Regions from separate parts of the Homo sapiens genome. Here regions 1, 3 and 4 are each linked to region 2. The links are contacts of gene promoters, found by promoter capture Hi-C in human tissues and cell types (Jung and others, 2019). All regions are on one chromosome and are shown on one strand. The core of a region is centred on a gene start or on the middle of the fragment in contact, and the rest is flanking DNA. Distances in the headings are between cores, read along the strand shown. Region 1 has its middle 20 kb from the start of PYY. Region 2 holds the start of FAM171A2 (family with sequence similarity 171 member A2). Region 3 holds the start of MPP2 (MAGUK p55 scaffold protein 2). Region 4 holds the start of DBF4B (DBF4B-CDC7 kinase regulatory subunit).

The links. Contacts are between HindIII fragments. The study calls those that stand out against the background at their distance.
Region 1: a fragment that was not itself captured here is called in contact with the fragment with the promoter of FAM171A2 in region 2 in 1 of the 25 tissues and cell types used here (aorta).
Region 3: a contact is called between the fragment with the promoter of MPP2 here and the fragment with the promoter of FAM171A2 in region 2, in 1 of the 25 tissues and cell types used here (spleen).
Region 4: a contact is called between the fragment with the promoter of DBF4B here and the fragment with the promoter of FAM171A2 in region 2, in 4 of the 25 tissues and cell types used here (IMR-90 fibroblasts, dorsolateral prefrontal cortex, mesendoderm cells and 1 more).

What each region holds. Positions count from the first base shown.
Region 1 is chr17:43,972,034-43,974,937 of GRCh38, forward strand. It overlaps a transcript of PYY not described here. Among named protein-coding and RNA genes, the nearest start is that of PYY, 20 kb to the left of the region's middle. The HindIII fragment of the contact is 8,321 bases long and covers 1-2,904 here.
Region 2 is chr17:44,362,086-44,365,152 of GRCh38, forward strand. FAM171A2 (family with sequence similarity 171 member A2) reads right to left here and starts at 1,768. Exons shown (of 8, transcript NM_198475.3): 1 at 1,512-1,768. The coding sequence starts at 1,629. It also overlaps the pseudogene RPL7L1P5. RefSeq lists a silencer at 1,480-1,859. The HindIII fragment of the contact is 16,504 bases long and covers 1-3,067 here.
Region 3 is chr17:43,906,241-43,909,164 of GRCh38, forward strand. It overlaps MPP2 (MAGUK p55 scaffold protein 2), which reads right to left and starts at 1,296. Exons shown (of 13, transcript NM_005374.5): 1 at 1,234-1,296. RefSeq lists an enhancer at 1,306-1,455. The HindIII fragment of the contact is 11,562 bases long and covers 1-2,924 here.
Region 4 is chr17:44,706,835-44,709,925 of GRCh38, forward strand. DBF4B (DBF4B-CDC7 kinase regulatory subunit) reads left to right here and starts at 1,831. Exons shown (of 14, transcript NM_145663.3): 1 at 1,831-2,005; 2 at 2,470-2,532. The coding sequence starts at 1,987. RefSeq lists enhancers at 1,637-2,151, 2,152-2,665. The HindIII fragment of the contact is 13,873 bases long and covers 1-3,091 here.

The sequences.
Region 1 (2,904 bases), core at 32-2,531, 390 kb before region 2:
CGGTTGAAATTCTCTTTTTTGTGTATGAATGTTTATTGTTCAGACACCATTATTGGGTCTAGGAATCTATACATGTGTTAAAGCTCATAAAGCTGTACACCAACAAAATGGTCAATTTTATTTTATGTTACTTTAGTTATTTATTTATTTTATTTTATTTTATTTATTTATTTATTTATTTATTTATTTATTTATTGAGAGAGGGAGTCTCATTTTGTCACCCAGGCTGGAGTGCAGTGGCGTGATCTTGGCCTGCTGCAACCTCCACCTCCCAGGTTCAAGTAATCTCCTGTCTTAGCCTCCTGAATAGCTAGGACTACAGCTGTGTGTCACCACGCCGGGCTAATTTTGTATTTTTTTTAGTAGAGATGGGATTTCACCATGTTGGGCCAGGCTGGTCTCAAACTCCTGACCTCAGGTGATCTGCCTGCCTCAGCCTCCCAAAGCACTGGGATTACAGGCGTGAGCCGCCACACCCGGCCAACTTTATGTTACTTTAAAAAACATTTTTTTTTTTGAGACAGGATCTCAATCACCGAGGCTGGAATGCAGTGGCACAGTCATAGCTCACTGTAACCTTGAACTCGTGAGCTCAAACGATCTTCCCACCTCAGCCTTCCTAGTTGCTAGGCAAACAGGCATGCACCACTATACCCGGCTAATTTGTATTAGTATTTATTTTTGGTTTTGTTTTGTTTTTTTGAGACAGAGTCTCACTCTGTCGCTAGGCTGGGGTGCAGTGGCGTGATCTCGGTTCACCGCAACCTCCGCCTCCTGAGTTCAAGCGATTCTCCTGCCTCAGCCTCCCAGGTAGCTGGGACTACAGGCGTGCCACCAAGCCCACCTAATTTTTGTATTTTTAGTAGAGACGGTGTTTCACCATGTTGGCCAGGATGGTCTTGACCTCTTGACCTCGTGATCCGCCCGCCTCAGCCTCCCAAAGTGCCGGGATTACAGGCGTGAGCCACCGCACCCAGCCTATTTTTGTTGAGACACGATCTCACTATGTTGCCCAGGCTGGTCTCAAACTCCTGGCCTCAAGTGATCCTCCTGCTTCAGCCTCCCAAAGTGCTGGATTACAGATGTGGGCCACAGCACTCTGCCAAAAAAGTCATTTAAAAAAAAAAAGTTATTTCTAAAGTGCTTAGAACAGAACCTGAAAGTAAGTTTTTAAAAAGTGTTTGTCACTTAAAGATAAATTCCTGGCTTCCTAGGCAAGCCACCCTCCTACTGTAAGCACCCATGGGTGGCTACTGACAGATCAGGAGAGTCTCTGGGGTTTGTGCCTGGTGTGGGATCACATCCTAGGTCGTTGTGGAGGAAAAGTTAAATATTAAATCTGAACTCAATTGAACATGGACACAAACAATGGTCACCAAGTACCAGAAGGGGCTGTGTGAGCCCCTTGAGGCATTCATCCAGCGCTGTTTTGGAGAAATCTCTATTTCAATCTATTCCTATACGTTACTGAAAAACAAAGCTGGGCGTGGTTGCTCACGTCTGTAATCCCAGCACTTTGGGAGGCCAAGGTGGGTGGATCACCTGAAGTCCAGGAGTTCGAGATCAGCCTGGCCAACTTGGTGAAACCCCGTCTCTACTAAAAATACAAAAATTAGCCAGGCATGGTGGCGGCCACCTGTAATCCCAGCTGTTTGGGAGGCTGAGGCAGGAGAATCACTTGAACCGGGAAGGCAGAGATTGCAGTGAGCCAAGATCGTGCCTCTGCACTCCAGCCTGGGTGACAAAGCACGACTCCGTCTCAAAAAATAAATAAATAAGTATATAAGAAAAACAACAGACAATCGCAAAAACAAGTTGACCTTTTTGTGTTCCTTGAGCCTGGTCACGAAGGGCCTTCGTGCCTGGACCTCATGCCAAACAACTCGTTACAAAAGAGCTAGGGTCCTAGATTGTGCCAAAGCTTCATGAGACCTCTTCCTTGTCTGTGCACGGACAAGTGGCCGACTCTGGAGCCGACCCAGGCTGTTGCTTCCCAGTCTGGTGGTGAATCCTCCATAGTCTGGTGAGTATGAATATCTTTTCCCTTCTCCCCTTCCCATTGCAATTTGCTTATTATATCAATCTGCTTATTATTATATCATTTGCTTATTATATCTACATTGCCATTTACATGGGATAAAGGTTGTTTACCCTTAAAGGTATCGTGGGTGTGTCTTTTCTTCCCTCGCGCATTTCCCGCACATAACATTTGTGTCCCCGGATGCTACTGTGCAAGCAGAAGAGAAGCAACAGGCAGATTCAGACCGTCCTGCACAAACTGCCCCCTTTACTAGTAGAGGGTGGGGTGGAAGGGCAGGCAGTGGGGGATGGTTCTAGGTGAACACGCAGGCACCTTTGGAGGGAGGTGTCCCATGGTTGCTCAAAGCCCCACTCCAGAATCCGACAAAACCTGCTTCAAACCCTGTGTCAATTGTTCACCCAGTCTCTGTGGTGTGAGCAAATCATTTCATCTCTGAGCTTTGGTTTTGTCATCTGTGAAAAATAGGTCATAAAAGTGCCCGTAAAGGGTTAGGAGGATTGAATGAAATAATGGCTGTCAGAAGCTCAGGACTGTTGCCAGCTCAATGTAAGCACCCCATAACGTGCTACATTTTCTTGCTATTGTTTGCAATAAAGAGACTGGCAGGATGCGCCCTCAGTGTGAACAGTGGAGTTATCTTTTGTTGCGGGAATTCGGGTCCTAACATTGTATTCTAAAAATGTTCAGAGTTACAGCAAATTGAAAAAGGCTGTTCAGCAAGTGGTGCTGGTGAGGATTAGGATGCTTTTTCTTTCTTTTGGCTTAGCTATAGTTTATATTTTTCTACAGCAGACATATATTATTTCGATAATTAGAAATAAATATGGGGGGGAGGATAGGGAAAAAAAAGTTCAACAGAGTAG
Region 2 (3,067 bases), core at 518-3,017:
AACCTTGCGGGTGGGGGAGAAGGGAGGGGGCAGGTGCCTAGCAGATTCCCTTCCCCCTTTCCCTCAACCTGGGCTCCCCGCCAGCTGCCCCAGAGAACCCCCAATCCTGGCTCTATTCCAGCCAATTCCCTGGGCCCCTTCCCCTGAGGTGCAGGGACTTGAGGGGAGGGGCGTCCTAAGAAACTAGGGCTTCTTCCTACTAAGAAAAGCCTGATCTCCTCCCCGAGAGAGCTGGGGGAGACTGAGGCAGAGGGTGAACCCTACCCATTCCTCGAAGCCTGACATTCCATATAGTATCCACCTCTCCCGGCTCTAGGCCTGCCTCAGTCCAGGAGGAAATCCGACCCCCTCCCTTCATCCGGACCCCACTTCCCTCATCCAGACCCCCCCACTCTGCTTTTCCTGCCAGCTCCTTAGTGTGGGGGGTGAGGAGTGAATACTGCTTCAGGCAGGGATGGGGCCCACAGGCAGGAGAGGGAGAGCAGGACCCGGGAGGTGGACTCAGGACTGGAGTGGGCGGAGGCCCCCAAGCGTCCAGGCCTGCCTGTGGGATGTGTTGTCAGGGTCTTGCTCCCCCACCCTTTCCTGCTGCAGGAGCCGGCCCCACCCCCACCTCACACACCCACCTGCGCCCGGTGAGTCGCTGGGAAGGGTCTCCTCCACTGCGAAGATGTGAGATGAGGAGGGGGTGATATGGGGGCGGGCAGGGGACAGGAATGCCAGGAGGCCTGCTGAATGGGGGGGGACCCAGGCACCTGCCCTCCCAGCCGGCACTGCCCACAGCCAGCTAGCTCAGCATGGCTCCACGACCACAAGCCTGCCATGCTCCCTCAGCTGGGAATCACAATGTACCCCCTTTTCTTAGAGGCCCACAACTGCGGCTCGTCCTCCATCATAGGCTCACAAGCATTTATTTGGTGCACCCCAAACTCTAAACCAGGGGGGCTGGCTGGGAGCTGTCAGGCTCCAGGGCAAAGAACCCCATTAGAGCAGTCAATCCCGCCCACAGCCTCACCCACTCCCCCTTCTCCCCTCCCCCCTTCAAACCCAGCTCCAGGCTCCCAGCCTCCGGTCCCGGCCTAGGGTGGCAGCGGATGCCGGCGCCCCCACCCCGCCAGGGTCGGGAGCGAGCAACCCGCAGGGGGCTGCGGAGCAGGCGCCCGCCCCAGCCCGCCCCTGGGCGGGTGTCTTCGGTAGACAATGGCTCAGGCAGCAGCGCCTCGCGGACCAGGAGGGAGAAAAACAAATAGGGAGAGGGCGGCGGCGCAGATCCTGGGGACCCTCGCACTACCCATTGTGTCTCCCCAAGACCCCCGCCCCGGACGGCCTCCCTCTCCCCGCCTCCACTTTCCCCCAGAAGCGCCAACCCCAGATCGCTTAGCTCCCCCCACCCGAATCCAGGGAACAGAATACCACTCAATTCACGAACGCCGCGAAGAGGGGGCTGACGGGCGGGAGCCTGATCAGGGGGCGCAGGCCCGCGATCGCGGCCCCTCCCGGCTGAGACTCACCCTGCGGGCTGGGGGGCTCCGGCGGCGACTTGCCGGGAGCCCGGGAGGCGCTGCCGAGCAGCAGCCCCAGCAGCGGCAACAGCCGCGCGAGGACGCTGGGGCCACTCGCCGGCGGCATCGCGGGGCTAGGCCGGGCCCTAGCGGTCCATGGCTCCCGCCTGGTCCCGCTCGCCCGGCCCCGCGCAGCCCCAGCTCTGCGCCGCGCCTCGCAGCTCCGGCTCCCGCTCCCGCTGCGGCGCCCGCTCAGCGCGATTGTCTCCGACCGGAGCCGCCGCAAGCGCCCCCTGCAGGCGGCGCGCCACACCGCTGGCCCTCCGGCACCGCCCCCTCCCGGCCCCGCTCCGCCCGCCGCCCCCCGGTACTGCCCACCTTCAGCCCACCCCGCAGCCCCCGCGCTCTGCGCTCCCAGACTCTGCGCTGCAAAGGAGTGTCGGGATTAGGGTCCCATCACCCGGGTTCTTGGGTTTCGAGAGTCCCCAAAATTTGGTGCAAAATTTGTGTGTGTGTAGGTGGGGAGTGGATATTGCCTACAACACTCTCAAGGGGTACGGTCATGAAAGTCTCAGAAAACTGTAAGAACTCCCTGCTCGATGGCCCCCTTCTCCCGGTAGAACACCTAGGCAGTGCTGGGGTGATAGCAGGGAAGGCCCCCTAGACCCCCCTAAGTCTCTCTTTTTTTTTTTTTTGAGACAGATTTTTTTTTTTCAGAGACAAGTGAACATTTATTTTTGGGCCTTTCTTCCTATTTCAAGTCTTTTTCAAAACAAGGCCCCAAGAATCTCCAAATTCAATTATGTCCCTGGGCTTGGCCGACTGGTGCAGGAGTCTTAGGGAGCCTTGTACAAATGCTAGAGTTACTCACTTACCGACATTAAACTAAAACGCTGGAATTTTTCCTTGGAAACTGGACTGTGATTAGAGGTGCTTGCCATGAACATAAGCTACTGTTTCTTCTCCTTCTTTTTTTTTTTTTTTTTTTTTTTGAGAGAGAGTCTTGCTCTGTTGCCCAGGCTGGAGTGCAGTGGCGTGATCTTGGCTCACTGCAACCTCTGCCTCCCGGGTTCAAGTGATTCTCCTGCCTCAGCCTCCCAAGTAGCTGGGACTACAGGTGCACGCCACCATGCCCGGCTAATTTTTGTATTTTTAGTAGAGACAGCGTTTCACTATGTTGGCCAGGCTGGTCTCGAACTCCTGATCTCAAGTGATCTACCCGCCTCGGCCTCCCAAAGTGCTGGGATTACAGGCGTGAGCTTCTGTCTTTTCTTTGACCCTTCCTTTCCAGTTTTTGAAGATAAAGCTGGAAATAATCTTCTCTGAAGATACTTGATAAAAATTCCCAAAAAAACAAAAACACATGCTTCTACTACCCATGCTTCCACTTCATTAATAAAAATTTACTGCAGTTTGGCACCTGGGTCTAGTTCAGCTGGCGGATGAGCTGACTGATGCGTTCACCCTGATAGCCAGGTGTGCCCATCTCCTTGAGGAAGCCCACTGTATTTTTGGTAGCATGACGGGCCACTGAGAGGTAGAAAGGGCGTAACAACCATGAGACC
Region 3 (2,924 bases), core at 46-2,545, 460 kb before region 2:
CCGGGGAATCGGTTCCCAGAGCATCGGCTGGCTTTGCTCCCCCACGCCCGTCCAAGCCTCTGAGAGGGCGGGGCCTGGCTGTGTCCACAGGAGAACGGCAGTGCCAGGCAAGCTAGCCTGGCTCCGTGCCAAGGTCCTGCACCCAGACATCTGGGAACCTGCACCTCGGCTTCCAAAAGCCTGGGCCCAGATGCCCTCTCAGCTCTGCCTCCGAGATATCCACATCACCCATAGTGTCCGCAGGCGAGCGGACCAGCAGTGAAAGGGAGAGGTTTCTTCCAACCTCCCACCCATCCCTCCATCCATACACATACAAAGAGGTGCGGAGAAGAAAGGTCTGACAAAGGCGCTTTGGAGAGCGAGAGGTCGCGGGGAGGTCTGGACAGAACTGAGGGCCAGAGGATGGGGTCGAAAGGCCAGGCGGACGTGCATGCTTGGACCATCAGATCACCCCTGCCCCAACGGACCCAGCCCTAACACCCTGGGCGCTAGGACCTGGGGGAGGGGGGCGTGTTGTGAGCCATCAAAGAAGGCTCTCTACGTGCGCGCCCGCCGGAGACCAGGGATGAGGTCACTAAATGACTGCCCCGGCCAACCCCCACCCCGTCTTTATCCGCACCGCCCCCCCCTTAATTGACCTAACTTTCTAACCCTAGCTCTTCGCTTCTGGCACCGGTCCCCTCCCAAGTCTCCAGACCCTAACCCTGGCTCCCGACCCGCCCCGCTACAGCTTGGGAAGCGGGAGAAGCAGCGCGCGCCCTTCTGCGGACCCCCTCCCAGGGAAGATTGTGGTGTTAGCTGCCTAGGGGGACCAGGGGGCCACCGGGACCCAGCGCAACCTCTGTCTCGCTCCCCAACCCCCGGAAGCGCTAACAGCACGGTTCTTACGTAATGCCGGGCTTCTAAGTACCCCCAACCCGCACAGCCCCCGGGGAGGCCGCGCAGATACCGGGGCCCCTCACAGCTCACCACCTTGGTGCCTGAAGCCACTTTGGAGCCCCTACCGCAGGGGCGGGGACCAGTGTCAATGGGCAGCGGGGCTTGGTTCTCCCAACCAGCACCCCAGAAAGAGGGCCCAGGGGCGGGGGCGGGTGGACAGGGAGGGAACGGGCCTGGGTGAAAGGGGCCTGTGGAGTTTAAACCCAGTGAATAGGGTCCTAAGTGCCGTGTCAGGACGAAAAGAAGGCGGAGGTCTTGGGATAGGAGCTGGCCCGGGGGCCGGGGGACGCCTACCTGCGCCCCGGGAAGCCCCTAGCTCCGGGCGGCTCCAGCGCAGCCGGGCGCTCAGCGTTTATTGCTTGTCAATCGCTAGCCCGGCTCTTAAAGCGGCAAGGCCTCTCCGCGAGGGGGCGGAGGTCCGGAGGAGAGGGGAGGTGAGGAGAACGCGGAGGCCGGCACAACTCGGAGGAAGTAGTCTTTCCCAGCAGCTGGTACGGGGGCAGCCAGGTAGTGGTTTGGGAGACACCGCACAGACCACGACGCCCTGCTGGAGTCCCACTGGGAAGGGTTAGGGAGGCAGGACTGGTACCAGTACCCGCTGGTGCCCCTCGGCTCCCAAGGATCCCTTAAAGGGGCGATGGTAAAAGTGCCTAATGAGACCGGCTTGATTACTCCGCCCACCCATCTTGGCTTAGACCGGCGTTCTAGTTCCAGGCGTGCCTCACTTTTCCTCGTTATCCTGCTTCCATATTGAGAAAAAGAATAGGAGGACTTCAGAGAGACTCCCAGGAAGCAGGATACCAGCCCCAGAAGGCCTCGGGATCAGGGGCAGCTTTTTAAGGACTCAGAGGGTGGATATCCGGATTCCAGACTTTCCAGAAATTTTGCAAAAAAGAGGAAATGTCTTCCTGAAAGGATTCGAGAGCCTCTTTTAGGTCTAGGTGAGGGAGGCCTGGTCCATTTTCCTGCCTATGGAATAAAGAAGTAACTGGCTAGCCTTCCTCAGAGTCCCAGCCCAAAAAGTAAATAAAGGGTTAAACCCACTGGCCCGCCTTCGCCCAGCCTCCGGCTCCACCCCACATCTGCTAGTAAAAGATGCTGGGCCTCCAAATACGGGAGGCTCTGTGCAGTGCGACTAGCATTTGGGGCCAGCTACGCTACTTCTCCGACCTCGGCGTTCAGCCACCCCGTCCAGTTGCCCTGAACAAAATGTGAGAGTCATCCCTTTTCCTTGCTAACTGGATTCCTAAGATCATAAATGGACTGCATCTTTGGCCGGGCGCGGTGGCTCACTCCCATAATCCCAACACTTTGGGAGTCGGAGGCGGGAGCATCGGTTGAGCCTAGGAGTTCGAGACTAGCCCAAGCAACATAGTGAAACCCCATCGCTACAAAAAATAAAATAAACAAAATTAGCTGGGCGTGGTAGCGCGCGCCTGTAGTCCCAGCTACTTGGGAAGCTGAGGCTGCAGTGAGCCGAGATTGCAACACCGCACTCCAGCCTGGGCAACAGAGTGAGACCCTGTCTCAAAAGAAACAAAAAGAAAAGAAATGGATTACATTCTGGAAACTTGCTTGGAAATCTCAGAAATGGGAATCTATCCCGAAAGCAGGGGACTGGTCCCTGGGTTCCAAGACTCAGCTCTCCCCTGAGTTCCAAGGGTATAAGTTTGGATATAGGAAAAAGCCACAGAGGCGGCCGAACTGCTGAAAACCACATTGTTTAGGTGACCCAGGCTTTTACTGAGAGAAGAAAGCCATCGAACCCAGATAGCTTTGACAGGAATTGCAGGCTTTGGTCTCTAAACAAAGAGGGTTCTTGGAGCGCATTGCTTGCAGCTCTTTCCTCTATCTGCAAGCTAGAAAATCCTTCTTCTTCTTCTTCTTTTTTATTTTTATTTTTTGAGACGGAGTTTCGCTCTTGTTGCCCAGGCTGGGGTGCAATGGCATGATCTCGGCTCGTCGCAACCTCTGCCTCCCGGGTT
Region 4 (3,091 bases), core at 581-3,080, 340 kb after region 2:
ACATGTGAAAAAAGAACATGCTGAACCATCTTGCCTCTTAAAGTTTCTGCTTGGAAGTGATGTCACTTTTTTCTTTTTTCATGAGCCAAAGCAAGTCATATGGCCAAGGCTTCGTTCGTTCATCAGGGCTGAGATGTATAAGCTTCCTCAGGGAGGAGTCCCACTGGAAGAGATACCAAGTTTATGTACTGTATATACCTCTACCAGTGTTTAAAAAATATCACCCTGGGCCAGGCGCGGTGGCTCACACCTGTAATCTCAGCACTTTGGGAGGCCGAGGCGGATGAATCACCTGAGGTCAGGAGTTCGAGACCAGCCTGGCCAACCTGGTGAAACCCCGACTCTACTAAAATACAAAAATTAGCCGGGCATGGTGGCAGGCACCTGTAATCCCAGCTACTCGGGAGGCTGAGGCAGGAGAATGGCCTGAACCCGGGAGGCAAAGGTTGCAGTGAGCCAAGATTGCGCCACTGCACTCCAGCCTGGGCGACAGAGCGAGACTCCCTCTCAATAAAAAAATAAATAAATATAAAAACTATCACTCTGGTTGCTGAATGGAGAATGGATTATACTGGGGAGAGATAGGAAGCTACTCGGGAGTAGAAGTGAAGAATTGACCGCAGTACTTTAGGCAAGAAATGATAGCAGCTTGAACTAGGGTGGTGGTGGTCTGATTCCAGATGTACTTTGGAGGCAGAGTTAGTAGGATTTTTTTCTTGGAGTGGGGATGGGCACAAGGGAAAGTACTGAAAGACAACTTCTAGGTTTTTGGTTTGAGCAACTGGGTGAATGATTGTGACATTTGAGTAAACAGTAACATTTTACTGAGAGGGGAAGACCTGGGGGGAGAACAGGTGGTTTTTTGACAGGGGCAGCGAAACAAATGTTCTGTTTTGAATGTGTTCAGCCTGAGGTGCCTATTAGACATCCAAATTGAAATAGCCAGTAGGCACTTGAATATGTGAGTCTGGAGATCAGACAGGTCAGAGCTACAGAAAATCTGAAGGTGTGGCAGAGCTGAATTGTAAAGCTGTGGAGCTGGATGAGATCTCCTAGGGAGATAAGGGAGAGGGATAAGGGCTAAAGCGTTGGCATACTCCAAAATATATAGGTGAACAGTGGCTTTGGATCCAGCAAAGGGGACTGAGGAGGAACCATTGAGATAGGGAAAAAAACGGTAGAGTGCTGAGTCATGGAAGCAAAAAGAAGAAAGTATTTCAAAGAAGGAATAGTCCATCTATAAGTTGGATATGATAAGGATAGTATTTCAGACTGTGGAAATCACAGTTGACCTGGATAAGTACAGTTTTTGTGGGGAGGTCCCCAGCTCTCCACTGAATGATCTCTTATTAGATCAAATTTGATCTCTAATTAGCAGTCTAATTAGATGGGTTGAAGAAAAGATGGGAAGTGAGGGATAAAGATACGTCTTTTGAGAAGTTTTGTTGGGCAGGTAATAATTGAAGAACGGGAGGGGGACAAAAATGTGAAGATGAAATGATGTGTAAGTGAAATCTTTATGTAAACTGCAAATGCTCTGCAAGTGTTAGGCTTATTTTGTTATTTAGTATTCAAACTTCTAGGAATTTCAATGCAGCTCAGTGTGAAGAATCACTAAAAAGCGACCACTAGTCCTCAACTTGAGGGCCATTAAGGGGCAAAGCCGTCTAGCCAGTGAAGAGCCAAGAAATGAAGAGACGGTTTGAGAAGACGTAGGCGGTGGGGGAACGGAAAGAGGAATCGCGAAACTAATATTGTCCTTCCAAGGACACCGTAGGGCGGATCTCGCAGCTACGGCGTTCTTTTAGGGGTGGAGCCGGCAGGAAATTTAAACTGAAGCCGCGGCCGAAAACGCCAAGAGATTGATGCTGTAGCTGCCCTGAGATAACCAGGACTGTGGAATCGGGAAGAGCTCATGGAGCTCGCGAATGTAATACGGAGGCCTCTGAGGAAGGAGTACGGAGGCCGAGAAGGAGCCGGCATTTGATGAGCGAACCGGGAAAGGGTACGGATGCCGGGAAGGGGAGAAAGAAAGGCGGAAGGGGTCGTTAATAGCTGAGGCGAGGTGCGGAGTCGTGGAGGGGGCTTAGGAAGTGACCAGCGGGTAGGTGCCGAAGCTGAGGAGGGTATAGGGGCCGGGAAGGAGCCACAGGAGTTGAGGGGACCGAGGAATGAAGGTGGCAGAGGAACGTAGGGGACAACAGCCTGGAGGGATGTATGGAGATTGAGATGGACAGGAGGTGGCCAAGAGGTCACGGCCGTTGACTGAACGGAGTCTGAAAGGAGGCGGAGGGCATGAGGGGCAAGAGCCTGGCGGGAGTCGCGGGATGTAGGTCGGAATGGAGTTGAGTCTTGCTGTTCCCAGGAGTCGCGTTTCTGTGCGCGTTTTGGGAGACAGTAGTGGGCGGGAGGCATGGAAGTTCCAAGGGTTGGTGAAGATGGTTGAGTTGCTGTTATGTCCTTTCTCAGGAGACGATTGCCTCGAGCTGGAGAGTTCCATGGCTGAGAGTAGGCTCCGGGCCCCGGACCTAGGTGGGTAACAGGACAGAACTAGGGACGTGAGGTGAAAATTGCCCCAGGGTCTCTTGGAGAAGACCGAAAAATGTTCCCCCTGTTGGAGTTTTCGATCACTCAGTGTTTTTATGTACTTATTTATTCATTTTATTTATTGGGATGGGGTCTTGCTGTGTTGGCCAAGCTGGTCTCAAACTCCTGGCCTCAAGCAGTTCTCCTGCCTAGGCCTCCCAAAATGCTGGGATTACAGGTGTGAGCCACTTCACCAGGCCCACTTAGTGGTTTTATGTGTGTGTGTGTATGGACGCAGCATCATAGACCGTTTTGGGATTCATGATAAAGGTCAAGTAAGAGTCATATTATGAACAAGATTAACAGACAGATGTGGAGTCAGGATAGAGTGACTTATTAAATATATAAATTAATACATTCATAGTTGTTTACAATAAAATCCTTAAGTTAAACACTGCTACCTAATTAGGTAAGTATTTTAGCACATGGCACTTCCCTCCGTACTGCCCCTTTAGTTAATATCATCTAGTTGGCCGGGCGCGGCTGCTCACGCCTGTAATCCCAG